Linked DNA regions of Homo sapiens: region 1 is linked to region 2. Evidence: promoter capture Hi-C in human tissues and cell types (Jung and others, 2019). All regions are on one chromosome and are shown on one strand. Each heading gives the region's core, a stretch centred on a gene start or on the middle of the fragment in contact. The rest is flanking DNA. Distances are from core to core; before and after follow the strand shown.

The links. The method cuts DNA at HindIII sites, captures the fragments that hold promoters and counts their contacts. A contact is called where the count stands out against the background at its distance.
Region 1: a fragment that was not itself captured here is called in contact with the fragment with the promoter of SULT1C4 in region 2 in 1 of the 25 tissues and cell types used here (lymphoblastoid cells).

The regions. Positions count from the first base shown.
Region 1 is chr2:108,637,005-108,639,808 of GRCh38, forward strand. All of the region lies in intron 1 of LIMS1 (LIM zinc finger domain containing 1), which reads left to right. Among named protein-coding and RNA genes, the nearest start is that of LIMS1-AS1, 40 kb to the right of the region's middle. The HindIII fragment of the contact is 4,573 bases long and covers 1-2,804 here.
Region 2 is chr2:108,376,577-108,379,276 of GRCh38, forward strand. It overlaps SULT1C4 (sulfotransferase family 1C member 4), which reads left to right and starts at 1,378. Exons shown (of 7, transcript NM_006588.4): 1 at 1,378-1,930. The coding sequence starts at 1,762. The HindIII fragment of the contact is 17,622 bases long and covers 1-2,700 here.

The sequences.
Region 1 (2,804 bases), core at 120-2,619, 260 kb after region 2:
CTGAAATAATCCCTTGCCTTTCTGTGTACATTTCACAAAATTTAAAGTTAATGAAAGAAAAGAAACCTTTTTAAATTCAGCAAAATATACATATATGTGTGTGTGTGTGTGTGTGTGTGTGTGTGTGTGTGTGTGTGTGTGTATTTTAGTTCCTCTGCTTCATCCTGGTCAGTATTTTCAAATGCTGTTTAATGCAGTAAAATCTACACAAAACATGTTCTGTGTCAAAAAGAAAATAACGGGCAGTGAAAGATATGTACATTTGAATTTGAAAAGGTTCATTGTTTTCACTTGACTCAAGTGAAATGTTTTTTATTCTGTTCTATTCTGAAATTCTCATGGTTTTCTTTTACCTTATCATTGAGGGAAGTAAACCCCGTGTTAAGCTTAGTCACAAAATAAAAACTCCCACGGACTTCCCTCCCAGTGTAGCTGAAGGTTAATGTCCAGGGAGATAGCCTTGACTGAGTCAGAACTAAAATAAGGGTGTTATTTAGAGCCAGATACTCTGGTGCTACAGCCACTACAGCCGTGTCAAGAGCTCCTGACACACTGGAGGCTGTCACTGGTGATCTGGGCGTTCTCCTAAGTCAGCATTCCTAGCTAAAAATACTGCCATTCTGTATTGGAAACACAGCTTCCTCTAATTTGTCTGTTTTGACCAGAACACAATGTTATCTTTTTAAAAAGCTGTTTAGGTGTGAGAATGTATGTTAATGGATCACAATACGAATAAAAATAAAAGAATGAAAAGATAAGTGATTTGAAATATAAAGGAACTAGTACAGAGACATTTTCTAGTTAAAGTTTCTAAATGGTCAGAGAAAAATCACCTAACCTATGAGAGAAAATTTTAAGATTTTTTTTTTTTTTTTGAGACAGTATCTCGCTGTGTCTCCCAGGCCGGAATGCAGTGGCATGATCACAGCTCAGTCATAGCTCACAGGCTCAAGCGATCCTCCTACCTCAGCCTCCTTAGTAGCGCCTACAGGTGCATGCCACCGTGCCCGGCTAATTTTTCTATAGAGATGGTGTGTCACCACGTTGCCCAGGCTGGTCTCCAGCTCCTGAGCTCAAGTGATCCTCCTGCCTCAGCCTCCCAAAGTGCTGGGATTACAGGCATGAGGCACCATGCCCAGCCCAAGAATGTTTTTAAATTGACTAAACACTGCTTATTTGAGGGACCATGGGAGAAAAAAAAATTGTGAGGTGGCTTATAGATTTCAAACTATAGTGATTCTGATTGATCGAGCTGTCTTTCTTGAGGAAAGTTACGCCAAAGGCAACGAGCTAGACTGAGCTGTCTGGGTGTCTGGGTAGGGACGCAGCTCACCAGGGCTTGCCCTCTTTAGATGCCCTCTGCAGGCAGTCTAGGGACTTCTCTCAAGATGTCCAGTTTGATTAATTGCATGATGACAGTGTGCTTGGTGCCATGAGGGGTATAAAGATTCAACAGAGGCTGGGCGTGGTGGTTCACGCCTGTAACCCCAGCACTTTGGGAGGCCAGGGCGAGCGGATCACCTGAGGTCAGGAGTTCGAGACCAGCCTGTCCAACATGGTGAAACCCCGTCTCTACCACTAAAAATACAAAAATTAGCCTGGTGTGGTAGCACATGCCTGTAATTCCAGCTACTCAGGAGGCTGAGGCACGAGAATCACTTGAACCCAGGAGATCGAGGTTGCGGTGAGTCAAAATTGCACCACTGCACTCCAGCCTGGCAACAGAGTGAGACTCTGTCTCAAGAAAACTAAGCACAGGCTGGGCACGGTGGCTCACGCCTGTAATCCCAGCACTTGGAGAGGCCGAGGCGGGTGGATCATGAAGTCAGGAGATCAACACCATCCTGGCTAAGATGGTGAAACCCCGTCTCTACTAAAAACACAAAAAATTAGCCGGGCGTGTTGATAGGCACCTGTAGTCCCAGCTACTCGGGAGGCTGAGGCAGGAGAATGGTGTGAACCCGGGAGGCGGAGCCTGCAGTGAGCATGGATCGCGCTACTGCACTCCAGCGTGGGTGACAGAGTGAGACTCCGTCTCAAAAAAAAAAAAATGTCTACTTAAGGGCCTCCTGGTGTTCTTAAGGAGATGAGGAGCACCTTTGCGATACAGAACACAACATTATATCCAATGAAAATCTTACCCACTCACTGCATGGGACACACAGTGGGTGCTATGGCTGCTGAACAGAAGATCGATAAGGCCTGGAATGTCAAGAAAGCTTCCTGGAGAAGATCTTGAGCAGGTACTTGAGGACTGGGCAGGTTTCTGATAAGCAGAAAGTTCAGGAGAAAAAAAAGGGACAGTGGTATTCATCCAGAAAATCGTATGTCCTTTGTATGTTTCACCCAGTGCTGGAAATGTTGATCATCACTTTTAAAGATAATTCTAAAGTCACCTTGCAACAACCCTGCATTTATTTAAGATCATATATCATATATGTGTACATGTTTTTGTTTTGTTTTTTTGAGACTAAGTCTCGCTCTATCGCCCAGGCTGGAGCGCAGTTGCGCCATCTCAGCTCATTGCAACCTCCACCTCCCGGGTTCAAGTGATTCTCCTGCTTCAGCCTCCTGAGTAGCTGGGATTACAGGCACCTGCCACCACACCCGGCTAATTTTTGTATTTTTAGTAGAGACAGGGTTTCACCATGTTGGTCAGGCTGATCTTGAACTCCTAACCTCATGATTCACCCACTTTGGCCTCCCAAAGTGCTGGGATTACAGACGTGAGTCACCGTGCCCAGCCGTGTACATGTATTTTAAAAAGAATAGAGCTCAAAATGTTAAAGTACTTGTTTCCAGTT
Region 2 (2,700 bases), core at 128-2,627:
CCCATCCACCTCACCATGGTCTGGAGGGAGGGGATGAGGAATAGGGAAAGCCAAAGAATTGATCTTTTCTGAGTTTGCATCCAGAACATGGGCCACAGAGAAATGGTGAACAAAGTCACCCATTATTATTAACAGCTATGATTTATTCAACATTTCCCTGTTGCCAAGCATTAAATAAGCTGTTTTATCTCCCCACAACCATGAGGTAGATAATGTTAAGATCCCCAATTCAGACCTGAGGAAAAGCGTGATATGAAACAGAGAAAGATTCTGTAACCTGCCATTGCCCACAGCTACTGGGACTTGGCACAGGGTTCAAATACAGGCAGCCTGACTTCTCTCTGAAGGATGTCAAGCCACAGCCACCATACTCACCTAGTCCCCACATAATGATGGCCCAAGGAACTCGCTTCCTCAATTTTTGCTTAGTTTTACTCATTCATTCTTTCGAGAAATAGAAGAATGCCAGACACTAGGCATACAGCTATCAAACAGTGAGAAAACAACAGGCCCCATTTCATGTGCCTTAGAGTGTAGTGAAGGAGACAGAAAATGCCAACAAGTAAACACGCAAAAACTAACTGTCAATGGTTGCTCTAAAGGAACACAAAGTGCCATGAGCAAGGAAATAGGAGGGACCTACTTGAGATGACATAGAAAGTCAAAGAAGGCTTCTCCAGAAAGGGGGCATCAAAGCTGGGACACGAAGAAAGAGAATCAGACAGCCAGACACACAAGAGCCGACAAGATCTCCAGAAGGAGTGCTGCCATGGGGAGCAAGTGTGGCATGGCCCTGGGGTGCAGGCCAGGCCGGGGGCAGGGACTGAAGCAAGTTGTGAAATTTCTGATTATCAGGGGCAGAATGGATTCCTAAGGCAGCCACTGTCTTCTGTTAACTCTGGAGTTTTCTGCATCCCTTTTGCTTTAAATGAGGCATACATGTTTTCATAGCTGTGATGAAACCCCTACAATTCTCCAGTTTAGCATTATTTATTTTACTCTTAAAAAATAACAAAGCTGACCCTGGCAGATGTTTGTACTGGGAGATTCAGATCCATCCAGGCCCCCACTGTTAATAGCCCACGGGAAAGTCCCTGCAGTCTCTCAGGGAAGTCATTCTGTGTAGAATCTGTAATTTCACAGGCAAGTCCTGCAACTTTTTAATTGTTTAAAATTCCCAGAAGGAATAATTACTGAAATTATCTATGAAGGGTTTAATGGACACAGACATGAGAGCTATAAACAATGTGATACTATGTCCTGTTAACTCACAGAGAACGGAAGGGCTGGAACGGGACCCAGCCAGCAGGGTTTGTGACCGCCTCTGCTGTGACGTCACAGCCTGGTGAGGAGGGGGCTGCAGTTCCTCAGGAAACTGCCAGTGGACAAATTCATAAACAAGAGCTCCAGTTCCCTGGAACCTGAGTCGGGAGACCTGCAGCTCACTTTCTCCCTGTTTGCTGGCCAGCAGGGTTTGTGGCCGCCTCTGCTGTGACGCCACAGCCTGGTGAGGAGGGGGCTGCAGTTCCTCAGGAAACTGCCAGTGGACAAAGTCATAAACAAGAGTTCCAGTTCCCTGGAACCTGAGTCGGGAGGCCTGCAACTCACTTTCTCCCTGTTTGCTGGCCCAGACAGGCCTGTGCTAGAGGGCTGGATAGTGTGGTAGTGTGGTGGATAGAGTGCTGCCTCTATCCACAACGCAGCCATATGCTGACTGAAGATAACTTTGTGTCTGGAAGAGCCCTCTGATTTCTTACACTAATGGCCTTACACGACATGGAGGATTTTACATTTGATGGAACAAAGCGCTTAAGTGTCAACTACGTGAAGGGAATTCTTCAACCGACAGACACCTGTGACATCTGGGATAAGATCTGGAACTTCCAAGCCAAGCCTGATGACCTGCTTATTTCTACCTATCCTAAAGCAGGTAGGTGGAAGGGCTTGCAGGGGAAGGGGAAGAGGAGAGTTAGGAAGGTAAGTGGAAGTATGCATTAGTCATGAAATAAAGAAGTTGATCTGGAAAACTCTGGACAGAGTGATATGGCTAAGGAAAGTTACTAGTGGAAACTGAAGCTATACCGAAACATACTAAAATGACATACAAATTTTTAGAATTCAATCTTCCTATGATACTATGATGTACTTCCTTTTTTTTTTTTTTTCACTTTCCCAGGAGAGAGTGAAAACAGTTAAGAGCAAAAGGGTAGACTTGTTTATTTATTCATTCCCAATCTAGGCCCTTATTGTAGATCTTGTAAAAAGCTGCTTTGAGTGTGTGAGCTAGAAAGGTGATCCTGAGTCTGATTTGGGAAAGAAATAGGGGAGCTTTGGTTCTGCAATGCTGATATCACCTCAGCAGCCCTCCCATCTCAGGGTCTGAGAACCATCCTTCTGATTTCCACCTTCCTTTGTGGTAAGTTTTGAACCAACTGCCTTATCTCAACAATCAGTTTAACAAAGTTGTCTGTAAAAGTAGGACTAGCTTAAGCCGAGCCACCACGTCATAAAAATTGGGTGATGATGAGGTGGAAATAGTTCTCTATAAATATTTTTGCATATCTACATATCTACTAGAAATACATTACTGGGTCCACACACAAATTGTATATACATTTGCTCTTTGCAAAATCAAGCTGTCAAAAACTCTTGTTATACACACACAAACACACACACATCAAAAAATCTAAACCTCAGTAT